Regions from separate parts of the Homo sapiens genome. Here region 1 is linked to region 2. Evidence: promoter capture Hi-C in 16 types of primary human blood cells and fetal thymus (Javierre and others, 2016). All regions are on one chromosome and are shown on one strand. Each heading gives the region's core, a stretch centred on a gene start or on the middle of the fragment in contact. The rest is flanking DNA. Distances are from core to core; before and after follow the strand shown.

Evidence for each region. The method cuts DNA at HindIII sites, captures the fragments that hold promoters and counts their contacts. A CHiCAGO score of 5 or more calls a contact.
Region 1: a fragment that was not itself captured here is called in contact with the fragment with the promoter of AKAP17A in region 2 in 2 of 17 cell types (naive B cells and total B cells); the score reaches 7.2 in naive B cells.

What each region holds. Positions count from the first base shown.
Region 1 is chrX:2,523,048-2,527,814 of GRCh38, forward strand. No RefSeq gene overlaps it. Among named protein-coding and RNA genes, the nearest start is that of ZBED1, 24 kb to the left of the region's middle. The HindIII fragment of the contact is 8,308 bases long and covers 1-4,767 here.
Region 2 is chrX:1,589,212-1,593,728 of GRCh38, forward strand. It overlaps AKAP17A (A-kinase anchoring protein 17A), which reads left to right and starts at 2,393. Exons shown (of 5, transcript NM_005088.3): 1 at 2,393-2,558; 2 at 4,233-4,517. The coding sequence starts at 4,252. The HindIII fragment of the contact is 17,990 bases long and covers 1-3,498 here.

The DNA.
Region 1 (4,767 bases), core at 788-3,287, 930 kb after region 2:
GGGGAAGGATAATTTTTTAGTGAAGAAAGCTGACAAACACCATCTCGACCAGATAACTGAGGTCAACATGCACTGTGAGAAGTCTTGTGGTTGTGAGAGTGTGTACCCTTGTTAGGATATGACGAGAAGGGCCTGTCCAACTTGTGGTCGTTCCCCCAAAAAACCCACAACCCGCATCTTTTTTTTTTTTTTTTTTTTTTTTTGAGATGGAGTCTCACTCTGTCGCCCAGGCTGGAGTGCAGTGGCATGATCTCGGCTCACTGCAACCTCTGCCTCCTGTGTTCAAGCGATTGTCCTGCCTCAGCCTCCCGAGTAGCTGGGATTACAGGTGGGCACCACCATACCTGGCTAATTTTTGTATTTTTAGTACAGATGGGGTTTCACCATGTTTGTCAGACTGGTCTCGATCTCCTGACTTCGTGATCTGCCCGCCTCGGCCTCCCAAAGTGCTGGGATTATAAGGGTCAGCCCCCACGCCCGGCCCCCAAACCCCATCTAATCATGAAGAAAACATCAGAAAAGGCCAGGGGCGGTGGCTCACTCCTGTAATAATTAAAAAATTAAAATTAAAAAAATCAGCTGTGGGCATGGTGGCGGGCACCTGTAGTCCCAGCTACTCAGGAGGCTGAGGCAGGAGAATGGCGTGAACGCGGGAGGCAGAGGTTGCAGTCAGCCGAGACTGCGCCACTGCACTCCAACCTAGGCGACAGAGTGAGACTCCATCTCAAAGAAAAAGAAAGAAAACATGAGAAAAATCCCAATAAAAGGACTTCCGTCAAAAGGCTTGCCCAGTGCTTTTCAAAGCTGTCCAGGTCATTCATCTGAATCAAGAAACGTCTGGAAAACTGTCCCAGCCAAGAGGGAACCCAGGTAGAAGTAATAACTAAACACCCTGTGGAACTGTGGGGCCTGTGAAAGGAAACTAACCCGGGCCCCGACAAGCTGGGAAGTGCCCAGGGCAAATCGGCCTCTCATTTTATTCAAGGTCACCCCTCTGCTTACTGAGATAGACGCATATTCTAATTGCCTCCTTTGGAGAGGCTAATCAGAAACTCAAAAGAAGCAACCATATGTTTCCCACCTACCTGTGACCTGGAAGCTCCCTCTCTGCTTCCAGTTGTCCCCGCCTTTCTGGAAGGAACCAATGGACTTCTTACATATATTGATTGATGGCTCATGTGTGCCTAAAATGTATAAAACCAAGCTGTGCCCCGACCACCTAGGGCACATGTCATCAGGACCCCATGAGGCTGTGTCACAGGTGCGCATCCTTAACTTTGGCAAATAAACTTCCTAAAATGATTGACAATTGTCTTCTAATTTTCTTGACTGACAGACCCTGGATGGGATCCTAAACATTAGAAAAAAACTAAAGAAATCTGAATAGGGTATGGGCTGGTTAATAGTAATGTATCAAGAGTGGTTGGTTAATTGCCACAAATGCACCGTACTAATTGAAGATGTTTATGACGGGGGTATAAAAGAGCTCCTTGTGGTATGTTTGAAACTTTTCTGCAAATCTGAAATCATTCTGAAACAAAAAATGTAACTTAAATCGACATTAAATGTCAAATTGCACTCTGTTAAAGAATCAAGATTAAGATTCAAGTTCCTCTCAATAAACTACAGATTAAAAACCCCTCAAAGGGCCGGGCACAGTGGTTCATGCCCTGTAATCCCAGCACTTTGGGAGGCTGAGGCAGGTGGATCACCTGAGGTCAGGAGTTTGAGACCAGCCTGGCCAACAAGGTGAAACCCCATCTCTACTAAAAATACAAAAATTAGCCATGTGTGGTGGTGTGTACCTGTAGTCCCAGCTACTCGGGAGGCTGAGGCAGGAGAATCGCTTGAATCCGGAGGTGGAGATTGTAGTCAGCTGAGATCGTGCCGTTGTACTCCAGCCTAGAGACAAAGCAAGACTCTGTGTCAAAACAAAAACAAAAACAAAAAACAAACAAACAAAAACCCTCCAACGATCTCCTCAATCTCTTCTAACTCTATGCATGAGAATCTGTAAATATTATAGCAGCAGGCAGCATTACAGAGCCCCAAAAGACCTATGTTCGTTCAACATGCCCTGATTCACTATTTCGCCCAAGGAGACTCTGATAGCAGAGGCGACATGTCAGTTCATCTTTTATTCAATGCAGAAGTGTCCCAGATTGATTCTGTCTTCAGAAACTGTGCTGACTGCAATACTCTAAAAACTGAGCCTATACCTGGGTAAGCTGGTTTTCTGTGAAACAAGTTTATAGGAGAAGCATCACAGATCACCCAGTGTTTAAAATATCACTGCATTCAAATATCATTATTTAAAAGAAATGAATACAATCATCATAATAAAAATGCAATCTTTCCAGCATGAGTTTCTGGGGAATCTGCATATTTTTGATCCTCTTGGGTCCTGTGTCATCCTCCCTGACACGGAGATAACATTGTAAACGTGAGGTTTTTGAAATTACGTAAGTGATATTCTGTGAAATATCAACCATAATGATTGTATGCAGTAAGTGTTCAATAAATACTAAATGTGATTTTTGTGATGTGCGATACATGTCAACGCTTCACTTTAAAATTGGTGGAATTACTCTAATAATTATTTTCCCATGAAAAATGTGGTATTTAGCACTTTTATTGGCATCTTACACACAGTGTGTCTGTTATTCCCCCAGACATTGTAGGTTAGTCTTCGCTTCCCTCCCATTTCCTCTCCTCTCCTCCCCTTTCCTTTTTCCTCACTCTCTTCCTCCCTTCCTCTCTCTCTCTCACCCTCTCTTTCCTTCTTTCTTCCCTCCCTCCCTCCCTTCCTTCCTTCTCGACAGGGTCTTGCTCTATCACCCAGGCTGGAGTGCAGTGGCACACTCACACCTTACTGCAGCCTCAAACCCCTGGGGTCAGTTTGTCTTTCCATCTCGGCCTCCTGAGTGGCTGGAACTATAGACAAGCACTCACCATACTCAGCTAAATTTTTTTATTTTTTGTAGAGCTGGGGGTTCTCACTATGTTGCCCAGGCTGGTCTTGAACTCCTGGGCTCAAGCAATCTTCCCACCTTGGCCTCCCAAAGCACTGGGGTTATAGGCATGAGCCACTGCACCCAGCCTGGGTGATAGAGTTATTTTTTTCTTATATTTCATCACATATCCATGCCTGGGTTACCTTCCATAGTGTTATTTTACCACAACGACAACAAAATTCCTTTAAAAATTTTTTTCTAGAAATCCATAAATACATATGTCAACAAAGTTAAGCTGTTGAGTTAAGCCTAGTTAGGTGAAGGTTTGCCTTAGAGGTAGTGTGTTTAGACTTGACTTGGGAAAAATAGACACATATTGGAGGAATCCTCTGGAATTTAAGGGCACGGAAGAATGTTGGTGATATGGTTTGACTGTCCCCACCCAAATCTCATCTGAATTGTAGCTCCCGTATTTCCCACGTGGTGTGGGAGGGACCAGGTGGGAGATAACTGAATCATGAGGGCGGTTTCCCCGATACTGCTCTTGTGGTAGTGAATGAGTCTCAAGAGAACTGATGGTTTTATAAGGGGAAACCCCCTTCACTTGGCTCTCATTTTCTCTTGCCTCCACCATGTAAGATGTGCCTTTCGCCTTCCACCATGACTGTGAGGCCTCCCCGTCACGTGGAACTGCGAGTCCATTAAACCTCTTTTCATGATCAATTATCGGGTCTCCTCAGGTATGTCTTTATCAGCAGAGTGTGAACACAGTTGGTTTCCTGGTAATTTGCAGTGATAGCCAAAGGGTCTGTGCAGTGCATAGACACATATTTCTAGGGCAAGAGGGCAGGGGCTGTGCACACACAGATGGGTGTAGCAGGAAGAAGGTGGTGCAGGCAAGCTGAACAGTGAAAGAGGATTTAGTGCAGGGACTCTTTACTGAAGTCTAGCCAGAATGTTAGGGAAAGCATTCAGAGATGGTGCAGAACCTGCAGGCTGGGAAACAGGAGCGCTCACCCCCAACTCGAGAATGATGGCAAAGGAAAGAGAGAGAGGCTAGAACCCAGCGAGGGAGAACTCAATGAACAACGCCACCTGACAGGTGCTAGGACACTGGATTAGAGGAGAAAGCCAATGTCAGATGGAACCCAGGGCTAAATCCCTCCAACTTTACTCTCCTCCTGTCTCCAACCTCAGTGGCAATTCCCCAGGGTCAGAACCAAAAATGGCAGCCAGAAGGCAAGAGAACCCTATGGATGTAGTATCTGTGAGTCATCCTCAGCCTCCTTGCCTCCCCATTCCCCCTGCCACTCTCCCCTGGGTTGAGAAGGTTGGAGAAGTGTACAAAGTGGGTCAGAGAAACAAAAGGAAGAAAGTTGGCACAAGCATTCAAGAAAAGTGATAGCAGGTATAGGAGAAAGGGATGTGCCATGCTTTTGTACCATTGAAACATTTTAATAGGGGAACAAAAAACTCTAATTAGTATGTGACAAAGGAAAAACAGAAGGGACTGAGGAAGGCGGGGAGGGAGAGCGTTTATTCATTTAGCAGAGATGTCTGACTGCCAGGCGGACGCAGGACCTGAAAAACACCCAGGGACTGTAGTGAATCAAACTCAGCCCTGTTTGTTTCGAATGCACTCAACGTTAGCCCCGACTCCGGCGAGATTTCATCGTTTTGGGAAAGATTCGTTGGCATCCTCTCTAAAAGCATTTGCCCAAATATGTTTTTAGAAAGCAAGCACGTTTTTTTCCCCTTGGATCACTACATGAAAAAATACTTGGAAATAGTGCTAATATGTGAATGTAATTAA
Region 2 (4,517 bases), core at 1,143-3,642:
CCCCTCCCCTCCTCTCCCTTCCCCTCCCTTCCCCTCCATTCCCCTCCCTTCCCCTCCCCTCCCCTTCTTTTGAGATGGAGTCTTCCTCTTGTCATCCAGGCTGGAGTGCAATGGCGCAATCTTGGCTCATTGCGACCTCCACCTCCCGGGTTCAAGCAATTCTCCTGCCTCAGCCTCCTGAATAGCTGGGATTACAGGTGCGCACCACCACGCCCAGCTAATTTTTGTATTTTTAGTAAAGACAGGGTTTCACCATGTTGGCCACAATTGTCTCAAACTCCTGACCTCAGGTGATCCACCCGCCTCGGCTTCCCAAAGTGCTGGGATTACAGGCATGAGCCACTGTACCCGGCCTAAATCACAGACTTTTATGTCTCACGGTTCTGGAGGCTGAGAGTCCAAGATCAATGAGTGGGAGGTTCAGTGTCTAGTGAGGACCCGCTTGCTGGTTCACAGGTGGTTCCTTCTGGCTGTGTCCTCACATGGTGGAAGGGGTGAGAGAGCTCTCTGGGGCCTGTCTTCTAAGAGCACAAATCCCACTCATGACCTAACCACCTCCTAAAAGCACCACCTCTAATACTCTTGCAGTGGGAACTGAGTTTGAACTTGAGTTTTGGAAGGACAGAAACATGGAAGGCATAGCAACCCTCTTACACAGCCCGGCCCCTCTGAAGCCTGCCTGGGTTCACAGAATGTTCCGTCTTCCTCAGGCCCCTGGTGTGTTGGCTTTCTCCTTTGTTGATAGCTGATGTTGAGCAATGCAAGATTTCTGTTCTGATTATCTGACCCTGGATATCCAGTTTGGGGACTTGTGACATATTTGGGACGTCAGAAGCACGTACCTCTCACATAGAGCATGGCATACTTAATAAACAATAAATTATAATAAAAAATGAATAATGCATTATAAATTATCATTACTTATTTATTTATTTATTGGAGACAGAGTCTCGCTCTGTTGCCCAGGATGGAGTGCAGTGGCGCCATCTTCGCTCACTGCAACCTCTGCCTCCTGGGTTCAAGTGATTCTCGGGCCTGCCTCAGCCTCCTGAGTAGCTGGGACTATAGGCAACCACCTCCACACCCGGCTAGTTTTTTGTCTTTTTAGTAGAGACGGGGTTTCACCATGCTGGCCAGGCTGGTCTTTTTTTTGTTTTGTTTTGACATGGAGTCTCGCTCTGTCAACCAGGCTGGAGTGCAGTGGCACGGTCTCACTGCAAGCCCCACCTCCCAGGTTCACGCCATTCTCCTGCCACAGCCTCCCGAGTAGCTGGTAGCTGGGACTACAGGTGCCCACCACCACGCCCGGCTGATTATTTTTTGTATTTTAGTAAAGACGGGGTTTCATCGTGTTAGCCAGGATGGTCTCGATCTCCTGACCTCATCATCCGCACATCTCGGCCTCCCAAAGTGCTGGGATTACAGGCATGAGCCACCGGGCCCGGCCCCAGGCTGGTCTTGAACTCCTGACCTTGTGATCTGCCCGCCTTGGCCCTCCAAAGTGCTGGCATTACAGACGTGAGCCACCGCACCTGGCCTCATTTATTATTTTGTAATCACATTATAAATTGTCATTTATTATTTCATAATTACATTATAAATGATCATTTCAGAATTACATTATATATTTTCATTTATTTCATAATTACACTATAGATTATCATTTATTATTCCAAAATTACATTATAAATTATGATTATATTATACAATAGCATTTGCTTCATAATTACATTAGATTATCATTTATTTTTAAATTACATTATATTTATTTCATAATTACATTATAAATTATCTTATAATTAGAAATGATCATTTATTTCATAATTGCAATATAAATTATTATTAATTTCATAATACCATTGTAAGTTATCATTTATTATTTCATAATTACATTATGTAATGGTATGCGTTAATAATTATTAATATACAATTAATAATTATTAACCATTCAATTAATAGTTAATTAACTAGCAATTTATATGTAATTCTATAATTACGTCATAGAATATGATATCTAATTTATACATAAATTATATTATTCAAGTATATTACCCATAATTTGCAAGTATAGTATAGAATCCCGTTATAGGATCCTATTACATTTTAGAATTTTGTTATATATATTTGACTCTACAATTGGAATTTAGACCCCACACCGGCCCCCCTCCTGTTTGGCTTAAGGGCTATGACCACAGACCCTGGCCCAAGTACCTCCCCTGGTTACCCGCAGGCAGGTGGCACCATGGGGGCGGGGCGGACTCGCGCACGCGCAGTGCAAAAGGTCGGGCTCCCGGAAGTCCCTCCTCCCGGGGGCGGAGCCAGGGCAAGAAGGAGAAACCCGGTGCTGCCGCGCGGCCTCTTCCGCGAGCCCGCGCGCCGGAAGTGGAAATGCGTCATAGAGGGCGGGCGGCGACGGCGGTGGCGGCGTCGGAGGCGCCTCCGGGGGACGGTGGCGGCTCCCGGCGGTGAGGCCGCGCCTGTCCGGGGATCGTCGAGGGACGGCGGGAGCTTGGGCCAGCGGCGGCGGCGGCCTGGGACGCAGGCGGAGCCCCGCGCAGGTGAGTGCCGCCCCCGTGCCTCCCGGGCCTGGCTGCAGCCGGCGAACGCTTCGCTCCTAGGGCCGGGCCCGGGGGGCCGGGGCTTGGGAGGCGGCGCCTAGGGGCCTCGGAGGTGACGGGGCTGGGGTTGGGGGGCGTGGGGTGCCACCGGGGGGCTGGGAGCGCCTGAAACTGTACGGGGGAATCGGGGGCTGGGGAGGTCTGCGGTCGGGGTCCGGGGGTCCCTGGAAGTAGGGGTAGGGGCTGGAGCGGTTCCTGGGACTGCACCGAAGGAGCTGAGGCCTGGAGCGGTGTCGGAGGGCTGGGAGCTCGGGGGATCGGATGGGCGGGAGACTAGGAGGCCTGGGACTAGGGGACGTGGCGCTGCGGTCGCTCCTAGGTCTACAGTGGGAAGCAAGGGGCTGTCCGGGGTTTTCGGAGGCTGGGGCGGTGCTGTGTAGGTTGGGGTATTGGGGCTCATCCAGGAGGGTGGTGGGGAGCGGGGAACTGAGGAGCTGAGGGTACCGAGTGGCCAAGGGCCTGAGAATGTGTGGGGCCCTGCCAGGGGTGCCAGCGGCAGCCTGAGGCCATGCTGGGGGGCTGCGGTAGGTGGGAATACCAGGGGCAATGCCGCGTACTGGGGATTGGGCAGCCAGGTGTACCGGGGTGGTCGGAGGGCGCTGGAGGCCAGAGTGGGGAGGGTTCCTCGGTGGTGAAGTTGCTGGGGCCGCTTGGGTTCTGGGGGAGGGTTCACTGGTCTCTGTCCAGACTGGAGCCCCTCCCTGGTGCCCCACTGACCTTTTCTGGTCGCTTCTCCACCCTCCCTCCCTTCTTTCGCACCTCCCACCTCGGGCTTGGGCGAGGAGGCCGTCTCCTGGGCCTGGCAGGAAGCCTCCAGGTTGATGGGGTGGGCGGCCGGGCCGGAGGCGGTCACCTGAGATGGTTGGGTTTCTGCGAGTGAAGCTTCCTCTACTTGGACTTGGCCGTCAGGAAGTGGCTGCCCGTCAGCTCAGCAGGGAAGAGGTGGGTTAATGAAGGTGGGCGGAGAAAGAAGGCGCAGACGGGGGACTCCGGCCCCTAACTTGTGGAAAGTTCGTTGTACTTTTTGGCTTTGAGTGGGTTAAAGCTGGGATACGTTTGGCCTTCGTGGAGATTACTAGGGTTCATGGTTCTGGATTGTTGTTGCAGCCCGAGACTTCCTGTTTTATCAGGGCAAGTACAGGGCCGCCGCCCCCTCCACAAAACCTTTCCAGATGCCTGCAGCTGTGCTCTCCCTGGCCCCTTCCCTTCCCCAGTGTCTCTCTGCCCCTTCCCGTGGAGCTAGGCGTTTGTAGCGTCCCCGTTCCTACTTGACCTGTGTGAGGGGCCTGGTCGTGCTCAGCTTCCTATTCTGCAGGCCTTGGGAGCTGCTGGCTGCTGGATGTAGGGTGTCGGGCAGTGCTGACCGAGGCTTTGACACTAACCTGTTCTTTATCAGCTCGGCTCTTTCCCCTTTGGTGTACTCTTAATGATTTCAAAAAGTAAAGAACTCCGTTGAGATGGCTGTTAACAAAGTGGAAACCGGTCTCTGACACGGCAGAGAGACACTGCTGTTTCTCTTCTCCGGGTCCAGAAAGTGCCTGCTGGCTTGGCCCCTCCTCATTGGCGGGGGAGGTGGGGGGTGCTGGTGCTGACTGTCTGCGTCTTATGTTTCAGGCCCAAGGTCCCGGAGGCTATGGCAGCGGCTACCATCGTGCACGACACGTCTGAGGCCGTGGAGCTCTGCCCTGCTTACGGCTTGTACCTGAAGCCCATCACCAAGATGACCATCAGCGTGGCACTCCCGCAGCTGAAGCAGCCGGGGAAGTCCATCTCCAACTGGGAGGTGATGGAGAGGCTGAAGGGCATGGTGCAGAACCACCAGTTCTCCACGCTGCGTATTTCCAAGAGCACCATGGACTTCATCCGCTTCGAGGGGGAGGTGGAGAACAAGAGCCTGGT